5 separate regions of the Homo sapiens genome follow, and regions 2, 3, 4 and 5 are each linked to region 1. Evidence: promoter capture Hi-C in 16 types of primary human blood cells and fetal thymus (Javierre and others, 2016). All regions are on one chromosome and are shown on one strand. The core of a region is centred on a gene start or on the middle of the fragment in contact, and the rest is flanking DNA. Distances in the headings are between cores, read along the strand shown.

What was found. The method cuts DNA at HindIII sites, captures the fragments that hold promoters and counts their contacts. A CHiCAGO score of 5 or more calls a contact.
Region 2: a contact is called between a fragment that was not itself captured here and the fragment with the promoter of TTC39B in region 1, in 8 of 17 cell types (activated CD4 T cells, naive CD8 T cells, total CD4 T cells and 5 more). The highest score is 15.0, in activated CD4 T cells.
Region 3: a contact is called between a fragment that was not itself captured here and the fragment with the promoter of TTC39B in region 1, in 6 of 17 cell types (non-activated CD4 T cells, total CD8 T cells, total CD4 T cells and 3 more). The highest score is 9.7, in non-activated CD4 T cells.
Region 4: a contact is called between a fragment that was not itself captured here and the fragment with the promoter of TTC39B in region 1, in 9 of 17 cell types (activated CD4 T cells, total CD4 T cells, total CD8 T cells and 6 more). The highest score is 16.8, in activated CD4 T cells.
Region 5: a fragment that was not itself captured here is called in contact with the fragment with the promoter of TTC39B in region 1 in 8 of 17 cell types (activated CD4 T cells, naive CD4 T cells, total CD8 T cells and 5 more); the score reaches 16.9 in activated CD4 T cells.

Annotation. Positions count from the first base shown.
Region 1 is chr9:15,305,966-15,308,723 of GRCh38, reverse strand. TTC39B (tetratricopeptide repeat domain 39B) reads left to right here and starts at 1,508. Exons shown (of 20, transcript NM_152574.3): 1 at 1,508-1,640. The coding sequence starts at 1,599. RefSeq lists silencers at 1,254-1,593, 1,624-1,943 and enhancers at 1,181-1,743, 2,307-2,758. The HindIII fragment of the contact is 2,405 bases long and covers 1,267-2,758 here.
Region 2 is chr9:15,445,958-15,448,657 of GRCh38, reverse strand. It overlaps SNAPC3 (small nuclear RNA activating complex polypeptide 3), which reads right to left. Exons shown (of 9, transcript NM_001039697.2): 5 at 1,414-1,563. Among named protein-coding and RNA genes, the nearest start is that of SNAPC3, 24 kb to the right of the region's middle. The HindIII fragment of the contact is 5,903 bases long and covers 1-2,700 here.
Region 3 is chr9:15,548,554-15,551,351 of GRCh38, reverse strand. No RefSeq gene overlaps it. Among named protein-coding and RNA genes, the nearest start is that of CCDC171, 3.1 kb to the left of the region's middle. The HindIII fragment of the contact is 3,429 bases long and covers 1-2,798 here.
Region 4 is chr9:15,496,464-15,499,163 of GRCh38, reverse strand. The region is part of intron 3 of PSIP1 (PC4 and SRSF1 interacting protein 1); the gene reads left to right. Among named protein-coding and RNA genes, the nearest start is that of PSIP1, 13 kb to the left of the region's middle. The HindIII fragment of the contact is 2,963 bases long and covers 1-2,700 here.
Region 5 is chr9:15,465,774-15,468,595 of GRCh38, reverse strand. It overlaps PSIP1 (PC4 and SRSF1 interacting protein 1), which reads left to right. Exons shown (of 16, transcript NM_033222.5): 15 at 1,737-1,848. It also overlaps a transcript of SNAPC3 not described here. Among named protein-coding and RNA genes, the nearest start is that of PSIP1, 44 kb to the left of the region's middle. The HindIII fragment of the contact is 697 bases long and covers 1,006-1,702 here.

The DNA.
Region 1 (2,758 bases), core at 259-2,758:
AGCAAGTATTAAGGATGCAAAGTGACTCACTGAAAATGTATGTAATGGACTTGCACAGACAACTGCTCTACTGACACAGAAAGAAAGAGAGGGAGGGTGGCTAGAGCCAGTACAGTACAAAGCAATGGTTATCAGCTAGGCCCTAGAGTTAGACTGCTGGGGTTCAGATGCTGGCATCCCTACTTACTTAACTGCTGTCTGGCCTCAGGCATATTACTTGAACTCTCTGAGCCTCAGTTTACTCATCTGAAAGAGAACAGCACCCTACTTTATGGGGTTATGAAGAATAAATGAAATACTATATGCAAGAGGTTCAGTAGAGTCCTGGCACATAGTAAGGACTCAAGAACTATTAGCTGTTTTTACAGTTATCACTGGATGACTATTAAATAGCCTTTCATGAGCCAGACATGGAAGACCACATGCTCTAATTAAATTTATATGAAATTCTAGAGAAGGCAAATCGATGTTGATAGCAGATCAGTGATTGACAGAGGCTAGGGAGCGGAGGTAGGAAATTGACAGCAAAGGGTCACAGAAAACTTTTCAGGATGTTCTATATTATGACTGGGATGCTTTGTAAACACTTGTCACTGAATCACACATTTAACTTGGTGCATTTTTCTGTATGTAAAGTAAATCTGACCTCTCTCCCCCAAACTCTTAAAGATCTAGCTTTTAATTTTCCAGTTATTTTACATGTCAGAAGCAAGGTTCAGTTTCTAAACTCAGCCAACAAATATCTGTTGAGCACCTACGATGTGCAAGACACTGTTCTGGGTGTTGGGGATACAGTCTTGAAGAGGACAGATAGCATCCTACCCCCATGGAGTTTATAGTTCAAGCACGAATTATACACCTATGTTTGGAGTTACAAAATACAGGATGCTATGGGGAGAATACACTGTCCGGGTAGGGGGAAGTAGAGGAGTTCCAATATGTATAAATCTCTGTCCCGCGTTTTTTTCTATTTTTTGAACACAGAAGCAAGCAGAGTCCTTCCACCTACAGTCCAGGTGGGTGGTGTGTCAGAGGCCTCTCGGGGACCAGTGACCGTGACCCAAGGCTGCCCTCAGGCCACACCATCTGCGAGATGCGGTGGCCACCTGGCGAGGGAAAAGGACTGGCACCGGACCAAAGACCAGGTGGATGCTTCCACGGACCCCAGGTGGGGCGCTGCTTTGACCTTGGCTTCGTCATGCCCGCGCTCTCTAGCTTCTTTCCAGGTGTGCCCAGCCACCGCAGAGAACAGGCGGCAGGAAAGCTTAGGAAACCCTCCCAGAGGGCGTGCCAGACCGGGAAACTTTATCTGGGAGGTGACTCCACCCACTTGGGCGGGGCTGCCGCCCGCTGGGGGCCGGGCAAGTGGCCCGGCCAGCGGCGCGGCGTCCGGGGAGGAAATGGATGCTGTGCTGGCCTGCCGGCTCCGGGGGCGGGGAAATCGAGTAGCTGCACTCAGGCCCCGCCCGAGACCCGGAGGGAGCGCCGGGCCGTCCCCTTTTGCCCTCCTTTGCGCTGGGCTGAGCCCAGAGCCGAGAGCAGGAGTCGGCTCTGAGTTCCCTGCTTGGTTTTTGGGTGGCAGCAGCCAGAGGAGGAATATGGCGCTCTTAGGCAGCCGAGCGGAGCTGGAAGCGGACGAGGTACGATCCGATGGGGATTGCGGGCCCGGCCCCTGAAGCCCTGGACAGGAGTCCGGGAGAGAAGAGTGAGCCCGGCTAGGACGGCCGAGGCCCCGCCCCCTTGGTCCCCTCTCTGGGGTGGGCTGGCGGGCGCCGGGTGGGGGCGCCCGGCCTTGGTAGGTCTGTCCCCGCTGGAGCTAGGAGGGTCCCTGCGGCGCGCGGAGCGGACGCAGTGCCGAGGTTCGGAGCGCCGGCCCCGCGAGTCGTGGGGATGGAGGACCCACGTCCTGCCAGCACTTGGATGGGCGTGAGGGCGCGGGACCATAGGACCCGCAGCTCTGAGCTGTTCCGGGCCGGCCCAGCGACGCCTGGGCTTTACGAAGTCTGACCCTGAAGTCCTGGCACTGGCTCTCTGGGTGTTCGTGGAATCATCCCTCGACCTGGGAATCTCACCTTCTATGGAAGTTTCCTGGTGGCAGAACCGAAAGGCTTACGATTGATGAAAAGAGGGGGCAGCCTGAGGAACAATGAGTAGAGGGGTACCTGCCGCGACAGCAGGGCAGGGCTGCCAGGGGCTGGGGCTGGAGGGCTAGAGCCGCAGCCCAGGCTGTGGTGCTTCCCTCTCCCTCCACGGGGCCGGGACACTTCCCCTAGCAGGTCCTCAGAGTCGGTGGTGGCCGGAGGGAAACCACTTTGAGAACCGACTCCGGCCTCCTTTGGTTTCAACTGTGTTTGAGTAATTAGCCACTCCTTCAGTCGTGGCGCGCCCGGGCCTGAGCACCCAGGGGCTAGCGCGCCGGACCTGTTGATTTATTGACTATTCATTTCAGCACCTGGCAACTCCAGAGACAGCGCTCTCCCTGCTCTTGAAGTTGAGACCGAGGCTCCAGCAGCAGCCAGCACCCACAGCTGCTGTTCCTGCCATCTTACCTGACTTGAATTGTGCGAGTCGCTGCCTTTAGAAGGCTTTGGTTTCAAATGATGCAATAGTGGACGATCTGGAGGAGGCGGTTAAGTTTCCCGTCCATCTCTTTAGTGCCAGGAATCTCCTGACAAGGAAGACTATACTTTAAATGTGCTCCGTAAAATAAACAAAAAACAAAAACTGAACTACAGCTCCTCTGCATGACAGAGAGACA
Region 2 (2,700 bases), core at 8-2,507, 140 kb before region 1:
ACATGTGAGCCATATGCTAGTCTCCACACTAGTCACCAAAAACGAATATAGTCAGCCTGTGGAGCAGACGGACACACATTACACTGAATCAGCATACTGAAATACATACTACAATGGACAAAAGAAAAGGTGCCAGGGTAACAAAGAAAGGAGTCAAGAAAAATTGCATATAATTGGTGAGTTTTGAGCTGGGTTTGGAAATCTGAGGATGAACTCACAAAACGGATGAAGTAGGGAAAGGGCTTCCTACCATGTTCAAATACTCAGAGACATGAAAAAGTATGGTACACTGATGAAAATACACAAATTCACTATGGATGAATGAGGTGTAAAGGCAGCAAGTAAACAGTTCAGAAAGTTAATTTGGGAAGCATCATTATAAAAGGCCTTATATGTCAGCCTAGGGAGAAAAAAAAAAGTTAACATGAAACCTCAGTTATACCAACATTTATGTGGCTGGTGGAACAGGACCCAGGAAAAAAGGAGATTGTGTTGGTTCTTGTCCAAACACTATCTCCATCCTTGTTGTTCCAAATATCTTTTTACTTATCTCTAGGAGATGCTATCCCTCCCCTGAAATGGCCCTGTAAACCTGAGGCCCTCTGCCAGAGTTGTAGCAGGTTTAGTTCAATCCTGCCCTATGATGAAATGTGGAAGGGATCAAGGCCCTCCTGCTTTATTAGGTAAATGATCCTTTCTGAAAACATTGTGGGTAGCCAGTCTACCACACTGCTTCTTTCCATCCTTATCCAGGGGGTATGCAGGGCTTCTCTTTCCTTTTGAGAGCAACACATTGGGGAAACACCAGCAAGGACCAACTTCATATGCTCTCTCCTTGTTGGGTATTGGTCCTTGGGCAGCGAAAGGTGAAGAATGGGTGCTAACTATTTGAGGCTCTCAGGTCGACTCCAGCCTTTTGCTGGGCACAATCATGACAGATCACAACTCTGACAGAGCTTCAAACGAGTGAATGAACAGCAAAGTCATATGCTACAGTGAGGTCAAGTTACATAAAAATGGAAAAGTGACCAACTGCTTAGAAAATTAGGTGGTCACTATTGAGCTGAGATGGCGACACTGCACTCCAGCCTGGGCGGCAGAGCGAGACTCTGTCTCAAAAAAACAAAAAACAAAAAAAAACAAAAAAGAAAATTAGGTGGTCACTATTAGCCCAGAAGGAAAAGTCTCCATACAATAGTTTAGAAACAAATGAGAGATGAAGAAATCAAAACAGAGTCTAGCCTCTTCTTTGGAAAAGTTCCGGTGATAAAGGGAAGGAATGAGATAGTGTAGTTTGATGGAATCCCGCAGGAGAAGAAAAGGATTTACTGGGACATTTATGAACCAGCTAGAGTAATCGCTATTTTCTTAGCTTGTTATTTCCTTTTGTTTTATGGGAGGAAATCACCTTACTTTGCTGATGTGCTCAGGGGCTTGGTCAGGAGTGTTGCTGAATTCACCACCAATCTGGAGGTCACTGACACATCGAATTGAATCCCTCAGTTGTGTGAGTTTTTGACTGCCCAACACCAGCATTGTTTGGTATGGTTTGTGTTCTTTGTGCTAAAAGTCAAAGAATAAATAAGTGTTCATTTAGAGACAAAGCGATAAAACTACAAATCCTGTCATGACTAGATCAAAATTAAATTGCTGGTTTTCTTAATTTTAAATTGTCCCCATAACTTGATGCTCTGTATTTTCACATCCAATAATTATAGGGCCAAACTCATGGTCAAAATTGTTTACATCTCCCCTGTGATCCAGAGCCACTCTGAAACCACCTCCTTTATTACACACCAAGCCACTATTTCCCCTGGTATTCCCTCAACCTCAATCCACCCAGGGCCAAGCACCAGGCTACAAGGGACAGCCCCTCTGCCACCAAACCTACTGGAATTGTTCGAACTAGCCAATCCTAAACTGTTTACTCTTCCCTACCTTGTCTTTCCCACAGAAACCCCAATAAAAACTGTGGTCTATGCCTTCCCCTCTCCCCTTTCAGCCTCCTAAATGAGAATGATGCTTCTTCCTGTGGCCCTACATGGTGTGCCCCCTCCTCTAAGGAAATGTAATAAAAATCTCCTTTCAAAGGCATTATAGCCTCTCCATGTCATCACTCAGTCATCTCCATAAATTAGAATAGCATGGAATGTCCAAGCACAGTGGCTCATGCCTGTAATCCCAACACTTTGGGAGGCCGAAGCAGGAGGATTGCTTGAGCCTAGAAGTTCAAGATCAACCTGGGCAACATAGCAAAACCCCATCTCTACAAAAAATTTAAAGGTTAGCTGGGCGTTGTGATACATGCTTGTAGTCCTAGCTACTTGGGAGGCTGAGGCAGGAGGATTGCTCGAGCGAAGCTGCAGTGAGCCATGATTGTACTGCTGCACTCCAACCTAGGCAATGGAGCAAGGCCCTGTCTCAAAAACAAACAAACCAACAAAAATCCCATGGGTACAACTGACATACTCAGCCATGGAAATTTTCTGGTTTAAACTGAAGTTTATAATCAAGATGATACCAAACTGACATGAGCATTAAGATCCACTGGAATGTAACTTCATTTAGCAAGACTGTCTTAAAATTTCCTAAAAGTTACTTCATTGAGGTCAGGCAATCTATACTGTAACCTGAGGTTATAAACCCAGATTCATACTTTGGTTTGGTTTCTTTTTATGATTGGTCATTTGGGATCTTTTT
Region 3 (2,798 bases), core at 106-2,605, 240 kb before region 1:
TAGTCCCAGCTACTCGGGAGGCTGAGGCAGGAGAATGGCGTGAACCCGGGTGGTGGAGCTTGCAGTGAGCCGAGATTGCGTCACTGCACTCCAGCCTGGGCGACAGAGCGCGACTCCGTCTCAAAAAAAAAAAAAAAAAAATTATTTGTGTTTTAACAAAGTCACAAAAGTGAATATTGTATCGCAAGAATAAATGCTATGTACTATATTGTATGTTTTTGAAATGAAAAATGGATGTGATGTGAAGACCCGTTTTCATTTATTTGTTCATTCAGCATTTACAGAATACAGACTATGTACCCAACATGGAGCTAGATGATAGAAATACAGGGGAATATTGATATCAACCCTGAGCTCCCAGAAATGATTCATAGAAAAGAACTTTGAGCTTAGTTTAAGAAGACCGTTAAAGATTTATGAAGCTAACAAGGAACTAGAAGGAAGACACGGAAGCTGCAAACACCAGCATAAGAACCAGCACCAGACATTTGAAAAGCTGGAAAAAGCTGTCTGTGCAAAGGAGGTGTGAGCGATGAGGCTAGAGAAATATGCAGAACCCAGATCACAGAGGAATTTCTACATCATACTTAGGAGTTTATCAAGCAATGAAGCTAATGAAGGGTTTTAAGCAGAAAAAATATAAAAATTACACAATAAATCAGACCATTTCAAAATGCGTGGAGATTCTCTGTTGTCTTTTATTTGCTTAACATGCTACTACTACTTGAAAAAAGCTATATAAAGAGATGTTCTCCTACCCGCTTATCTTTTGGCCTCAACATCACTTCATTTCTCTCTCTTCTTTCTACCAATCCTTTTGAGATATGATTAGATTCATTCATTCACACCACTCTACCAATAGCTTCCAAAGTCAGTAGTGACCTCATTGCCAAATCTGAGACCCCTTGACTTTGCTGACACATGTTGATCCTCAGATGCCTCTCCAGCAAAGGTGAGACTCTATACTCCATTGTTTCTCCAACTCTCTGAACTTTCTGCTGCTGCTCAGGAAACCATTCTTCCCTTCCTGCCCCTCAAAGTGATATTTTCTCAGTTTCTGCCCTCAACCTTCCCATCGTTTGTACCAGATAAGCGTCCTCAGTGATGTCATCCATTCCTGCAAGTATGAACTCCATATCCCCAATATTCAACTCTTTATATCCATCTCTGACCTCTCCTGAGCTCTAGTTTTGAATTTTTAACCCCGGTTTGAACAGTGCCACTCTAATTTCTGGAAATACTTAATTTAATATAACTAAATTTTAATTATCTTTCTAACTTCTTGTGGGAATCCTCTAAACTACTCTCCCACCTGTTTATAAAACTTCTAATCTCCTAGACACCCAGGCAAGAAAAACCCTAAAAATTTTGTTTGCGTCTTTCTCTCTCAAACTCTCACTTCCTGCATGCAGGATTCCTACTTTTTCTCTAAACCTCATGTCTTCTTTCTGTGCCTACTTAGTACTAAGCAACTTCATTTGTCTGTTTCCTTATTGCTTCCTATTGAGACACTCATAATTAGGACCTTCCTTGTGGCCCAATGCAAGTCACTCACCTTCCCCTTCTGTGCAAATTCTTGACATTTTTAGAAGTTGACCATTAACATCTAGGGCATTTTTAAACTGGCATATATAAGAAGAGAGGATCAAAAAAATAGAAAAAAATCAAAAGCAGGTCTAAGAACACCTGTATCTTTATGAAACTAGGGGAGTGTAATAAACTGATTGTACGTATGTGAGCCTCAGAGTTTTAAAGCACCAGATGAACCACATTCTTTTGACCCTTCTGTAACCTCCCCTAGAAGGTTTAAATACCAGGTTTTGATTATTATTTTTTTTAATTATACTTTAAGTTCTGGGGTACATGTGCAGAATGTGCAGGTTTGTTACATAGCTATACATGTGCCATGGTGGTTTGCTGCACCCATCAACCCGTCATCTACATTAGGTATTTTTCCTAATGCTATCCCTCCCCTAGTCTCCCACCCCCCACCCCCCACCCCACAGCTTCTTGATTATTATGCTGCCTTGGTATCAATTCGTAGAACTGAAAGGCCTTGCCATAATTGTTGCTCTCAGTGGCTCTGGTCCTATGCTCCTTCTATATGCTAAAACGGAAATATCCTTCTAAAGCATAACTCTGATTATGTTACTATACTGATTATTTCTTTTGGTGGCCCCTCAATTGCTGCCTGGATAAAACCCAGATTTTCTGCTGTCAGTCAAGGGCCCTAATCTCCCTACCCGCCTTTCCAGACTTGCTTTTTCTGACCTTGCAATAAATCTTCCTTCTCATTCTTACATTAGCAAAAGAAAACACAAAATGTTTGGGAATAAATGTAATAAGAGGTAGGCATGGGCTTGTGTTAAAAGTATTAAGATACATAGGTTAATATACAAGATTTAAATCCAGATAATATTATTTTGTGTTTGTTTTTTAAATTTATATGTTTTTTATTTTCAGAGACAGGGTTTCATTATGTTGCCTAGGCTGATCTCAAGTGATCCGCCCACCTTGGCCTCCCAAAGTGCTGGGATTATAGGTGTGAACCACCACTCTTAGCCAAATAACATTATTAAACATGTAATATGTGCCAAGCACTATACTAAGGGGTTTCACATTTGCTATGGTTTGAATGTGTCCCCCAAATTACAATGACTTCTAATTCTAAGCATTAAAGTGAAAGGAAGACACACCTAAAGCTAGAAATGATTAGCTTAGTGAGGAAGGCATGTCAAAATCCGAGACAGGCTGAGAGCTAGGCCTCTTGCGCCAAATGGTAGCCAAGGTATTAATGC
Region 4 (2,700 bases), core at 105-2,604, 190 kb before region 1:
CAAGTTGAGACTCTGCTGTTTTAATAGGTAGGTGACCTTGCCTGAGTCAGTCTTTTTGAATTTCAATTTTCTCATCTTTAAAATGAGGTTTTTGGTGATCCCTCAGTTTCCTTTCAGCTCTGGAATTTGGTGGGTAAGTTACCTTGAATGTGTATCTTTTCTTGTTAAAATTTTAAAAAACAATATAGAAGGAAACAAATCCTTTTTACTCCTATTTTTTAGAAATAACCCCTAAACCTGGTAATATTTTGACGTGTTTTTTTCAAACTTGTCTGTGCATTTTTTAAAGGAGCTTCTGTCGTATATAGTTATGCCCTGCTTTTGTGTGCATGTTAAGCATTTGGTATGTTATTTTAAAGTGGAATGCCTTGAAGAATGAATCAGTCAGACCTACTGTTAACATTTTGATGTATTTCAGACTGACTTACAATTTTTTGGTATTTGATATTATGTATAATTATATCCTGCATTTACTTAGCATATTAAGGATTTTTTTATATGTAATTTTAAAGTGGAATGCCTTGAAGAATGAATCAGAACCACAGCTGCACAAGGTTGTACCCTTGGGAAGTAGTATAGTGATGTCCGTCGAAAAACTAATCTGGTCCCTGTTCACCAAACCTGTCGGACTGCGTGCCCAAGGAAGATTTTTTTTTTTTTCCATCTGCTGTCATTTTTGAGTCTCATTAAGAGTTCATCAGTCTTGAGCATATCTTACTCTTTGTTTTTTTGTTTTGTTTTGTGTTTTGAAACGGAGCCTCACTCTGTCACCCAGGCTGGAATGCAGTGGCACGATCTTGTCTCACTGCAATCTCCGCCTCCCGAATTCAGGCGATTCTCCTGCTTCAGGCTTCCTAGTGGCTGGGATTATAGGTGCACGCCACCACGGCTGGCTAATTTTTGTATTTTTAGTAGAGATGGGGTTTTGCCGTCTTGGCCAGGCTGGTCTCGAACTCCTGACCTCAGGTGACACGCCCGCCTTGGCCTCCCAAAGTGCTGGGGCTGGGGTTACAAATGTGAGCCACCATTCCCGGCTTGACCCACTTATTCTTAGAATTTATTGTGAAGATAGGTGCAGAGATTGAGCAATATGTTTATTATAGCAGTGTGATTTTATAATATAAAATTTGACATGGAAAATGGCCCAACAATAGGTTTAGCTATTCAGTGAAATAGTGTGTAGGTGTTAAGTAATTGTTGACATAAAAAGATACTCATTTTAATTTAAAGAGGTCTACTTTTGAGTAAGTTTGTATCATATACATTGAAATTGCATAGTTATATATGTATATATACAAATAAGTGGGCTGAAAACAGTAGATTTAGTTGGTGAGATTGTGGATTAGTTTACTTTGATAGGATATGTTATTGTCAAAAAATTTTAACAGCTTTATTAAAATATAATTCATTTCTCCAAAAAGAAACCATGTATTCATTAGCATTTACTTTCCATTTCTACCCAATCTTCTTTCCCACCTTGGTCTAGGTGGTAGCTAACCTACTTTCTTCCTATTCTGGGCACTTCATATAAATGGAATCAGCCGGGCGCGGTGGCTCACGCCTGTAATCCCAGCACTTTGGGAGGCCGAGGTGGGCGGATCACGAGGTCAGGAGTTCGAGACCAGCCTGGACAACATGGTGAAACCCCATCTCTACTAAAAATATAAAAAGTAGCCAGGCGTGGTTGCACATGCCTGTAATTCCAGCTACTTGGGAGGCTAAGGCAGGAGAATTGTTTGAACTTGGGAAGCAGAGGATGTTGCAGTGAGCCAAGATAGCACCATTGCACTCCAGCCTGAGTGACAGAGCAAGACTCTGTCTCAAAAAAAAAAAAAAAAGGAATCATAGAACGTGTGGTCTTCAGTGGCTGGCTTTTCTCACTTAGGATGATGTTTTTCAAGATTCATCCATGCTCTAGCCTGGATGTGATAGTACATTACTACTCTACTTTTTATTGTCACATATTCCATTATATTGATTTACCATATTTATTCATCACTTGATAGACATTTGAGTTATTTTTACTTTTGGCTTTTATGAATAATGCTGTGAACATTTGTGTCCAAGTTTTTTTGTGAACATAAGTTTTCATTTCTCTAGGAGAAAATTCCTGGGTCAGATGTAATTTCACGTTTAACGTTTTGAGAAAACTCTCAGACTTGCCAAATCAGCTGCACCGTTTAACATTCCCACCAGCAATTGTAGGAGGGTTCCAATTTCTCCACATCCTTGCCAACACTTGTTATTATTTGTTATTTTTTGGCCGTCTGAGTGGGAGTGACGGTAGTATATTGTGATTTTTGATTTACATTTCCTGGATAACTTAATGATGTTGAATTATGTGAACTAAAAAAAAGTGTGCGAATTTAAAAATCTTCTGTACTTAACATGAATTTACATTTGTAAAAGTCTTTTCAGTTGGAAGAACATAGTTATTTAATTTTTGGTATATTAAGATACGTGAATTTATGTATGACATCAGTTGAACCATTATGGTTAATAATGAAAGGTACAACTTGTAAATCTGAATCTGGGAGTAGGAGCAAGGGGTGAATTTTTTTAAAAACCTACTTAGCAAAGTTAAGAATAAAAAACAATTGTAGTGAAAAGGTACACGTAAAATGAGGTGGTGTGAATAAAACTAAATGTAAACATTACATTTTATGAATGAATATAGTTCTGTTAAGACTTTCTGTTTTA
Region 5 (2,822 bases), core at 105-2,604, 160 kb before region 1:
TTTTAAACCATTTGCCAGGACTGCTTTTAAAAATGGCTTTCATACATAGTTTCACTGTGTATACGCCACAGAAAAAGTATACAAAGGCAAAATGGTGAAAATCTGATGGGCCTATTGAAGGACTAGAGCAGTGTGCATTGAGAACAAAAAATCATGTCAGTTTATATTCGACTTCTAAGGCAGAAACCATTGCTCATGAGGCAGATGACTCTGGATAAACAATTTTTAAAAACCCATCCATCACAATGCCTCCTAATCCCTAGAGTACCCACTTCCTGGTTGCTCAGCTGCTTCTGTTTTCTTCTCACCTAAAAAGTAAAATAGCGTACAGTAGCCTTTTAAATTAAAACACAGCCTCATAGGTGGAGACTACACCTGCCATTACTTGATACAGGTATTCTGATGATGCTGCTGAGTTACCCTGAACAGACTTCACAGTATTAATGCCATGTCCTTTTTTTTTTTTTTTTTTAAAAGATGGAGTTTCGCTCTTGTTGTCCAGGCTGGAGTGCAGTGGCGTGATCTCGGCTCACCACAACCCTCCACCTTCTGGGTTCAAGCGATTCTCCTGCCTCAACCTCCAGAGTAGCTGGGATTACAGGCATACGCCACCACACCTAGCTAATTTTGTATTTTTAGTAGGCACGGGGTTTCTCCATGTTGGTCAGGCTGGTCTTGAACTCCCGACCTATGGTAATCCACCTGCCGTGGCTTCCCAAAGTGCTGGGATTACAGGCATGAGCCACCGCGCCTGGTGATAAAGTCTTACAAAGCACTTAGATGTGTAGCATATATGTAAGGCACTGAACCTTAGCTTCTACTTTTTTCACTAACTTTAGCAGTAGTTAAATCCTGCTAGTACTTATTACTAACAGTAGTTATTTTCTTTTCATTTGTATTAGGAAAAATTTATAACTTATACAAATAGAAATAACTTCTCATGTCCTTGTCATCCAGCTTTGGCAGTTCAGTTTATGATCATTGTGCTTTTGTAGCCCATAAGCTTTCTCTATGCCCCTCTTGAAAGTTGTTTTACGAAAAATCCCTGACATACCATTTCACTCATAAACATTTCAGAATGTATGAAAGACTCTTAAAACAGAATCATAGTACCATTATCAGCTCCTCCAGTCTTGTTATTAAACATCTTAGTGGCAGCTGCTTAAGGTAAAAGCTGGCATTTCAAAAGCAGTCGGTTGGTTTTTTGTTTTTGTTGCTTTATTGGGGAATGACATGGGTCCCCTTAGAGAATTATTAATACGACTTACAGGAAAACCCCCTTTATTAGGCACAAAAATATCAATTAGGAAATACTCCTTTAGCACTTTGTTCTAAAATAGTAAATTTTAAAATTTGATTCACATTGCTTTTCCGTGGTAGAATAAATGAATATGCTAAGAATTACAACACCCTGTAGTATTCCTGGTAATAGTAACAACCAGAATAATCAGATTAATAATCCACTTCCTGTACTCATAGATAGTTAACCTGCTTTTTATGGTGCCTTAGCTACCCAAAGCCTCTGGTGGTCATCTGCTCCCCTTTTTGACAAAGCCATCAAAACCCAATTCTAACATTCAAGAGAGGGCTGTATTACAATGTAATTTCAAATAAAAGACATTAAGTAGTAGAAACACGATGGCCATGTTGTATTTTGATTCTGGATCTTTAGTGGACACCTTCAATTATTGTTTTGTAAGCTTTAACAAAGTTTTTCCATTGGATTCCTTCGCAAGGGTCAAAGACTCTAAATGGAGGATCTGATGCTCAAGATGGTAATCAGCCACAACATAACGGGGAGAGCAATGAAGACAGCAAAGACAACCATGAAGCCAGCACGAAGAAAAAGTGAGGAATAGGTTTTAATGGGTCTTGTGTGTTTTTTATTATTCAGGTTTTTAATCACAGTTCTGTTCCAAGGTTATCTTACTATAATAAGCAGTTATCTTTTGATCACCCAATTCCTGAATTCAGTAAGCAAGTTACAATTCAAAAAGGAAGAAGAGTAAAAACCTTTTATTGACAGTGACTTTGCCACTGAATTCAAGGGAATGGAACTAGCTGGGAACCCAGTTAAAAAGAAAATATTTGCTCCTGGACTACTTTTACTGAGATACTGTTAGTAATGACTTGCATTCACACTTTCTTGAATTGTGAAAGGATAATTGTAAAAAGTTAGATGGAGAATCACAGTTTTGTTGTTGTTGTTTTTTCTTTGAGACAGAGTTTCACTCTTGTTGCTCAGGCTGGAGTGCAATGGCACGATCGTGCTCACTGCAACCTCCACTTCCTGGGTTCAAGCGATTCTCCTGCCTCAGCCTCCCAAGTAGCTGGGATTACAGGCACCTGCCACCACGCCCATCTAATTTTTTGTATTTTTAGTAGAGATGAGGTTTCACCATGTTGGCCAGCCCGGCCTCGAACTCCTGACCTCAGGTGATCCACCCACCTTGGCTTCCCAGTGTTGGGATTACAGCTGTGAGCCAACATGCCCGGCCATCACAGGCTATTTTTTAATACCCACCCTAAAATAGGCTATGGAGCCATAGTTGAAGTCTTGCTTTGTTCCACTGTGTATCTGAAGGAGTTAGATAGAAGCATCCCTTCTAATTCTGAAATTGAGGGAAATCTTGTTGTCTATGTGTGTATCAACCTCTCTTTTTATTAAGATTTTGAAATATGTTGGTATCACAGATATAAAACATTCTCATGTTCTTTAAAGAGAATTCACTTTTATGCTAGAAATGATGGAAAGGGCTTGGTCCATGACACTTTGCTGAGTTATTTTGCTTCATCTGCATATTACTTTGGGAAGAAGATAC